Regions from separate parts of the Homo sapiens genome. Here region 1 is linked to region 2. The links are contacts of gene promoters, found by promoter capture Hi-C in human tissues and cell types (Jung and others, 2019). All regions are on one chromosome and are shown on one strand. The core of a region is centred on a gene start or on the middle of the fragment in contact, and the rest is flanking DNA. Distances in the headings are between cores, read along the strand shown.

Evidence for each region. The method cuts DNA at HindIII sites, captures the fragments that hold promoters and counts their contacts. A contact is called where the count stands out against the background at its distance.
Region 1: a contact is called between a fragment that was not itself captured here and the fragment with the promoter of COL5A2 in region 2, in 2 of the 25 tissues and cell types used here (aorta and mesenchymal stem cells).

What each region holds. Positions count from the first base shown.
Region 1 is chr2:189,135,042-189,139,651 of GRCh38, forward strand. All of the region lies in intron 1 of COL5A2 (collagen type V alpha 2 chain), which reads right to left. Among named protein-coding and RNA genes, the nearest start is that of MIR3129, 4.2 kb to the left of the region's middle. The HindIII fragment of the contact is 3,329 bases long and covers 81-3,409 here.
Region 2 is chr2:189,176,740-189,181,743 of GRCh38, forward strand. COL5A2 (collagen type V alpha 2 chain) reads right to left here and starts at 3,022. Exons shown (of 54, transcript NM_000393.5): 1 at 2,769-3,022. The coding sequence starts at 2,865. The HindIII fragment of the contact is 11,142 bases long and covers 1,077-5,004 here.

The sequences.
Region 1 (4,610 bases), core at 495-2,994, 43 kb before region 2:
CTACATATAACATATGTAATAAATCTTCAATTCAAGTCACAACTTTTCTTCTTGTTATCTTTCTATTCCTATTTTCCATTTCAGCTTACATCATGGCTGTAGTCAAATAATAAAAAATGACTGGCTTAATTTAAAACCATATACATTCTAATTCAAAACAACCAAATTATAAAAACAGAACCTACCACAGATGCTCATGGATTACTGGACTATTACCTCAACCCTATTAGCAACTTTTTTCTTCCTAACCTGGATATTTAAGTAATACATAATTTATAATGGAGATATTTTATGAGAAAATATTGCCACACAGTCAGTTGTGAGTTATTAAGAGTAACACATGGGCTTTGAACGCTCTATGAATCTGCAGAGTACATATCTGGTAAAAGAAATACTGCCTAAGCTTGAAAATGAAGTACTGCAATGATTTCTGACAAATCCTACTTCTCTGTGTCATAAATATTGGTTACAAACAGTGAACTGAAGAACAAAAGATAATACTCCACATGGCAGTTTATCATTCATAATCCGTAGGCTAATGTCTTTCAATTGTTTTGGCTTCAAGTAGTTGCAAACACTATGCTTATATCTACACATTTAGGAAATCTCCAGATTAATGAAAAAGAACACATATTTTATAAGAGATATTAAAAGATCATTCAGTTTAAAAGGATTTTGTTTAAATTGGTAGTAGCTATAATAGTGGTAATAGGAGAGGCAGCAATAGAAGCTTACATTCATTGAATACTTAATATGTGCTATATATTGTCCTAACTGTTTTATATTCTTGATCTCACTTAATCCTCAATAAACAGTATCATTCCCATGAGGCAACCAACAGTAGCTCACAGCAACTCCCATCCCTCATAAGTGATAGGCCCTGGATTTGAAACAAGAGAGTGTTATTGCAGGTGTAAACCTTTCATCAGTAAGGAGGATCAGCAGAGAAAGAGGTCCACCAGTCACATTTATTCCCTGGATGGGCTATGTTCAGGGAGGTGTTAGAATAAAATGATTGCGAGTGGGATGGGACTTACTGAGCTAGGCCTGACTAAAGCTCTGTTTTCTCAGCACTGAAAGTGCAGAAACTTAATAGTTAAGTCACCTTGTATTTATCAGATTAATTTTTAATGCTAATCTATGCTACACATGTTCATAGGAAATTAATTTGTGTATAAAAAGACAACATATTATTCTGCAAACCAGAAAGTTTCCAGTGAGCTAATCAGCATCTTCTAATGAAAACCTTACTGCTATGTACACAAAAATACCTGAGTACAAATTTACATGTATATAAATACATATTTATATATATGCTTATATATGTATATACTTATATATATGTAAAAGCTTCATATGTGTGTATTGAGGATATAGATATTTTCTTTTACACAGGTGTGGTTACACAGGTTAACTAGGAGGTAGTTATATATACACTCACATTTGGCATCTGTATATTTTTTCTTTTTTATAAATATATATGTATATAAAAATATCATACATGTATAACAATGGAGAAATCTTGTGTTTGTATGTTTACACAGACAGACATAAACACTATGAAATTTTATGATGCTAACAATAATACAATGATATGGAGAGTGGGGAAAAGAGATAGTCAAATTTCCAAACCTGATCTTTCTATACTTTTTAATGTTATATTTTATAATAGTTATTATATTTTATCTTACATTTATTTTTAATACTTGGAATTAGACCTAAATTCAACCTTATTCAAGTAATCACACTGCTTTTTTCCATTTTCTTGCCACAAGTACATTGTCTTGCCAAATATATTTAGTTTGGTTCAGTTAGTAAAACATGGCAAGCTATAAACTTGCTTCACTTTCAGCTACTTACAATCTGAACTTTATTTTCATTTTAACTGCTGATGGCCCAAACTTTTTATTGTCTGATAATATTCATCATTTTGAAAAATAGAAGCCAAATGTCAAATAAAATGCTGAATCTAAATTCCATCTCTTTAGTGTAGTAGAAATCTATATTATAGGTTCTATAATTACAATTATTAATCTACAGTTAACAAATGTTTTCTTCGTTCGTGTTTATTCTGAATAAAACTAACTGGACCAATCTCTTCAAGCAAAAACACAAACATAATACATTAAATATAGCAATAGAATGTGATTTATGGATCTTGAGTGAATTATCATTGGTCTTTTATAGGAAATGACAAGAGGTATAAAATTATCACAGAAAATGAAGTCCTACTCTTACATGAGAGATGTCTTCTGAAGTTTTGAAATCTAATAATAACATATATATCAAGGCCACGCCTAAATCCAAATTCTGTATTGGCTCATGTTACTTGATGAAGTCATTTTGTACAAGTAGCAAGAAGGAAGACTTATGTTCTGATCACTATTGAAGAACACAGGATTAGAGAAATCCAAATTTGGTGAGCTGGGTTGATTTTGTACTGAAATTTTAAGTAATATTCTTTTGATGTAGTCACACATTGTGTATTAAACAAAAAATGATACTTTTCACTTAGAGGAAAATGCTTTTTCTTATCTTATTAATTTGTTAGCCATGGATCCAGGAAATATTTTCCTTTCTCCTCTACAATAGAAAAAACAGCAGCACATGGACTAGAACCTGAGCTAGCTTCTAACTGTGCAGAAGACAGTGAGTTGGGGGCGGGGGATGGGTAGATGGGCTGTTGAACTGGGGCTTGTGCAATACTCATGAAGGCTTGAACCACCATTCAGCACAAGGTGATGGGTGCATAAATGATGTGTGCCTAGGATTTCTCAGACCTGGCAAATTTTAAAGAGAAGATAGAAATCAATATTTGTGTTTGACATCTCTCAATTGTTTGATGTTAATGATGTAATTCTAATAGTTTTTCAAAGCACTGTTTGAGCCCAGGAAAATATCTGTGTGGGCCTAATCCAGTTGAGGACTCCAGGTTTAGGATATACATATATAAAATGGAGTCTTGCTCAGTCACCCAGGCTGGAGTGCAGTGGCATGATGTCGGCTCACTGCAACCTCTGCCTCCCAGGTTCAAGCAATTCTCCTGCCTCAGCCTCCTGAGTAGCTGGGATTACAGGTGCATGCCACAATGCCCAGCTAATTTTTGTATTTTTTAGTAGAGACAGGGTTGCACCATGTTGGCCAGGCTGATCTCGAACTCCTGACCTTGTGATCCACCCTCCTCGGCCTCCCAAAGTGCTGGGATTACAGGTGTGAGCCAATGCACCCGGCCCGGTATATTTTTAAGGTATTATTTCCAGCCTCTGTCTAGCTCTACCCTTATCTTACTTATTAATATGTCTTGATTTGCTTCTGTTTATATATCACATATAGGAAAAATCTGAGAAGAAATGCTCAGATTTCTTCTCAGGCGATTCTACTGTCTCTGCTTCCAAATATTAACTCATACATGCTTAATTGAAATATATATAGATATTTGTATATACAACTATTAGTACACACATATATATTTCCTTGCTCTGTCAGCTGACAGAACACAGAAGCAACAACTCCCAAGTAGCAATGAACACACCTAGGTCCCAGATTGTGGTTTCTGATAGCATTCTCCAATATAAGGAACAAGAGCTCTTTGAATAAACAGCTGATTCTAGGACTGGGCCAATAAATATACAAAACGAACCTAGAACATCTTATAGTAACCGAAAGTAAAAAAGTACATACACACAAAAAAGCCCACATGATGGGGATATATCAAAGGGACACAGAATACAACTGAAAGACTTTCCAGTGGCCAAAACTGAAACAGTTTGACAAATAAAATAAGCAAAGTAGCATTCAAATATCACCAAAAATGTAAAATAAATATCTATGAGTCCATACCGATGTAAATACATACAAAATATAAAATAGAATAGGACAAATCTCCTATGCAGAATTGCAAATGATTTATGTAGCTACCCCACCCTTTAAAAGTTGAAGAGTAAGTCTCCACTCCTTAAGTAAGAACTGTATGTACATAGTGGCTTCCTTCCAAAGGGTACAGAATGGAAAAGGGAGGAAACAGCAAATTTACAGTGAAGACACAGGACAAATACCACCCCAGACAGGTGATCAAATTTAACACCAGGCTTGGCGCGGTGGCTCACGTCTGTAATCCCAGCACTTTGGGAGGCCGAGGCAGGAGAATCACTTGAACCCAGGAGGCAGAGTTTGCAGGGAGCTGAGATCACGCCATTGCACTCCAGCCTGGGCAACAAGAGTGAAACTCCCTCTCAAAAATAAATAAATTAATTAATTATTAAAGTTTAATATCAGTAATAATAATTCATGTTGATAGTTGAGAATGGCACTTTACCTCCTCCCAACACCCAGAACTCCAGTCTAATCATGAAAACAAAAATCATACACATCCTAATTGAGGGACATGGTACAAAATATCAGGCCAGTACTCCTGAAAAATCGTCAAAATCCTAAAAAACAAGGAATGTCTGGAAACTGTCATAGCCAAAAGGAGCCTAAGGAGACATGCAACTAAATGTAATATGGGATCCTGTGAGGGATCCTGGAACAGAAAGAGGTCATTAGACAAAAACTAAGAAAATCTAACTAAAGTATGACTCTAGTTAATAGTAAAATATCAATATTGGCTT
Region 2 (5,004 bases), core at 1,772-4,271:
TGATTTTGTCATTTTAACTCCCTGATTTTTCACACACACACATACACCCACACAAACTCTTTAAAAGCTGATTTTTTTCATTTTAACTCCCTAATTTTTGTTACGTTAGTTTTAACTAAAGTCAGCCCAACTCCCAAACTTTCTCCTTTCAGTTTCTTATAAATTTAGAAAATCAAATCAGTTCTTAAAACTCAGTGAGAATGGAACTGATTTTGGCTTAAAATGCCTAAAACTTTATTTATTTACTTTTATCTTCTCATTCATATGTTTCTATCAGGCAGGCATACTCAGATTACATTTTACATTTCTGGTAAATAACCACAGTCAAGTAAAGGGAAATATACCCTGAAGTCATAAAAAGAAAGAAAAAAATAAAAACTTATTAATATGCACTTACATGCAAAAACAGATCTCCACATTTCCAAGAAGACATATTTGTACAAAATGTAAATATCACATTATGTGACTGTTATAGATAAAATTTGAAAAATGTACTTGCTTTTCATGTGTGCCTCAGATATTTCTTTAATTTAAAGCATCGATCTAAGCTTACTCTTCCCCAAACTCAAAATCAAATGGAGTTTCTAAATTATGACACCTTTATTAAGCTTGTGATAGGCCTGAACAGGAAAAAGAAAGTATTGCCAAGTATCCATACAATATCAACTTAAACCAAAATATGCATAGTAAGTAAGTACAATATAAGTTAAGCAGCTCTGAATATACTATACTCTGGAATTATTTTCTCTATTATGTTTGATTAGGGCAATGACGACTTTCTTTTGCTGTTGAATTTTTATCACTTATATTCTCTTAAGTTGAGAAATAAAATACTGGAATTTTTTACAACACATATGCAAGCAATTACACATTCTGTAAAATTTGATGTTTGGAATTCCATTTTCTGTGCTATTTGGTTATACTGTTCGCGGGGGGTACTGGGGTTGGATTGGAGTTGGGGACTTTTTTGCATCAAGCATCACATTCCTTACATTTATGTCAATTACTATTAAGAAAAATTATCTGCTCATTTTTCAAAAACACCTACAGAGTAATTATAACTATTTGGGAATGTCTTTTAAAATATGGCTTATTTCATGTACCTTGTGAAACAGTCCTTTCATTTATTCACATATTCAATTATTTCCATACTTTATTAAAGTACTTTATTCATTTTAACATAAATTAACAAAGAAAGTGGTATTAAAGGTTTTAAATTAAAGTTGGTTGTTTTGGTGGGGGAGGGGAGTAAACTGTTCTTTCTAGAGTCAAATTTTCAATTTCTATTGTAATTTTTCTGTGTTTTTCTCCTCCTGTTTTCTTCTACTTTCTATTCAATTATTTTTGCCACCCTTCCAAACAACACATGCTTTTCATGCCATTACAAAGAAACTCAAAAGTTTTCACCTTTTATAAATTACCTCATATTTTAAAAACATAAAACGTAACATAAAAAGCTCCAAGTCTTAGAAAGTGCCCCCTCTATGGGACTCCTGACAGATTGTTGGATATTCATTTACAAATTCGTATTTTCACTTTTTAAGCTTTTTAGAACTTCTGATCTCTAGATTAATTTTATAAACTTTTTGAAACCAAAAACACACAGAAGCAGATATTTGTTCTAAAAATATAGATATATACATAGTATATATACATATATACCTGTATGTATGTGTCTATATATGAAAGTAATAGAAAAGGTTAATGAATGTCCAAAGTTTTAAAAGCTTGAGTTTGATGTTACATGGTTGAGTTGATGAAAATCTACAGTGGCTTATTTTAAAGGAGTACATGTCTGTATTTGAAATTGCAACCCTCAAGATTAAAGATTTAATAGAGGAATCAATTTAAATATTTTCTTATATACTACAACAGCTATGCATTTTTGCTTAACCATACCATATAACCCAACTGTAACATATGAAAATTGCATAGGAAAAAAATGTGGTCACCAGGCAAGATTTATCTTTAAAAAAAAAAAAAAAAAAAAGCTTGGGTCTAAGGGGTAATGTCCATGCAAATATTCCATGCCAAATAAGATATATACAAGACATGCTGATTTCCTGCCTTCCGCCATCCAACCGGGAACCACCACTGTCCTGTTAATCAAGCCAGTAGGGTGGGAAAATACCACTGTTTAAGAAATCTGGCTTCTATCAGCCTCTGTCATGGAGAAACAAACGAGACTGCCTCCCAGTAAGCAAAAGTGATCACATTTTCACAAATGAAAATGGTAAAAAGAAGTTTAAATTGTTAAAGAGGAAAGAATGAGGAGCCAAAGACAAAGAAAAATCAAAGCTATCAGAGTTGCTGCAGAGGTTTTACTAAACAAAGAATTTTATGAAGCAGCTGAAGTTCAGTACAAAAAGACTCCACCCTACCCAGCTTCTGCCGCGACTTTTCCTTGCTCTGAAAACTCCAGCCCACAGAACAGAGCTCCTCTAACTAAAATGCCTTTAGTGCTCCGTTTTAAGCATTCACTCTTTTCTTATTTTAAACGTCCCACTCTCACACTCAGCCAAAAGGACTTATTGTAGGCTTTCCCAGAAAAATTTAGTAGTGTACTCTCTCCAACGGTGGATCTAGAAGCTCCGGATTTACAAACATCCCAATTGTCTTTCAAGTCGTTTTCCAGGTGCAAATCCGTCAGCCCCCTTCTCAAACTTCAAACCAGAACCTCCTCTTCACGCTCTTCCTGAGGCTTAACATTCCACCTATTTCCCAAACCGTGCAATAAACACTACAAGCAAAGCAAATGGCAAACTCACCATCCTCGTCTTCTTCCTGGGCTTTTATTGAGACAAATTGCCCTAATAAAACAATAAGAATGAGGAGAGGTCTTGCTTCCGCCCAGTTTGCCATCATGTCTAAATATTAGACATGTGGGTTCTCCTGAGAGTGAAAAGTAGATTCTGAGGTTATTGTAGCACCATGAAGTCAGCTGTGGGCTCTTCTTTCAGCACCAGCCCCAGGGCAGCCTCTGCAAACCCCCTTTTTCAGCACCAGCTCCAGCACAGTCTGCGAAAACTTTTTTCAAGCGATGCAGCTTTAAATAGGAAGAATGCTGCCTCCACTTCTTTTCCTGCCCCTTTTCAGCTTGTTCAGGCTCATAACCATCCAGTGTCTGCCAAGCAACGGTCTGATTGATGGTAAACAACCAAATCAGAACACGCGTCTCTGTGCCTGAACTTTCCCTATTTCATTTAACTTTTAAGCATAGATGGGGCTTAATAACAGAAACAAACATTTGTTTCTCTTTTCTTTTATTTTTTAAGAAAGGCTGTTAGAAGAAAAGGGTTCTATTTTCCCCTCCCTAACCCTTCCCCCCAGACACACACCCTTTAACTTTTCCCCTATAAGCTGAAAAAGACATTCCGAAGGAAATCCAGCCTTTTACCCTAGTTTTTTTACATTTAGATAATTCAAGACTCTCTTCTCCACCTTAAATCTTTAAACAATCACATTTTAACCCTTTCTTTTGACTGAATAGGGAGTATTCTTATCCCCTTCTCAGATTCGGTTTCTTTTCCCATACTCTGGAAGGAGATTATTAGAATGTTGCCCAGGTAAAGTCCAGGTTAGAAAACCATTTTGGATAAATGAATTTGTGATACATTGTAATTTGAATTAAGAAAGCATGTCCTTTCCTAATTTCTCCACATCTCTTGTTAAGGGGCCACATCTTCAGGTTCCTCTTGTCCCAGAGAGTTTTACCATGTTGAAAAATAGTCTACTAAGCAGTGCAGAGGAATGGGAAGTACTCTACCTTTGGATGAAAAAAGGCTTGCTTCTGCCTTTTGTGAGTGGTTCTGCCACTCAATAATTTTGTAAATGTGCATATAGTCCTTTATCTCTGTGCACTCCAATTTTCTCATTTGAGAAAAGGGCTTTACCCTGACCAGTGTACAGGGTTTAGTGACACTAAAATGAGTAATGTATTATTAATGAAGCTCCAAATTGCAAAGAGCTACATAAAAGCAGATGGTGGTATTATTAGCTTTAAGCCAGCTTTGCAGGGAATATGATAGCCCCAGTTGAACATGCATTTTAAGGAAAATTATCGATGAACTTTTGTGCCACCCTCACACTTGCCAAGATCTTAATGACCTCAGAGAGTTCTATACAATCTAATGTATTTGCCACCTTGAGTCTCCCTAGAATCAGGATGGATGTTCTATACAATACAAGTGAGTCAATTGTTTATAATTATTGGGCAACAGGTGCCTTGCACTGTGCTAAGCACTGGGCAGAAAGGATGACATAAAAGAAATAAAAGACATACCCATCACCTTCAAGGAACATATGTAGGTGTTGAGAAACTAAATTTACAAGAAATAAAGATATATAAGCCAGAGCATATAAATATGTGAGGGATGCATTAAGCCCGGAGAAAGGAGAAATTATCAAATGAGATTAGGCAAGCAAGACATTATTACTGTTCTTAATAGAAGAAATCCAAGAACCTTTGCATTTTAGCTTTGGAACTAGACTCTGGATAAATATTCCAGTGGAGGTCAATTTTCCCGGTTGTTTCCAGCTTCTAACCCTGTACCTCTCAGTTTATCTTTTCATTTAGACATGTCCCATTTCAATGACTTCTGTCACCACCACACTGTTCTCAGGGGTGCCCTTCCACTTAATGAATGGGCTAAGTAAGGACCAAAAATCACCTTTCAGTTAATTCTTTCTAGAATATCTTAGAGAGGCTAGGACTTGAAATCCATCTGACTATATATTCAAAGATAACAGGAAGATAAGTAAATGTGGGGGGGAGGAATTAACCTTTCTCTGAGCTTGCCAGTCCTATTCTACCATGAGGCAATTTTAGACCAATACCACCCTGATACCGAAGGGCTGGCACAATTTTCAGGCACCTTGTGCAGCATTTTTACTGAAGTGCAAGACGGCAGACATTTATGGAGAATCTACAACTCTCAGATCCTATGCTGGAGATAAAACAATGATTAGGCAAGATTGCAGGACTTGTAGCAGAGTCAGTGTATG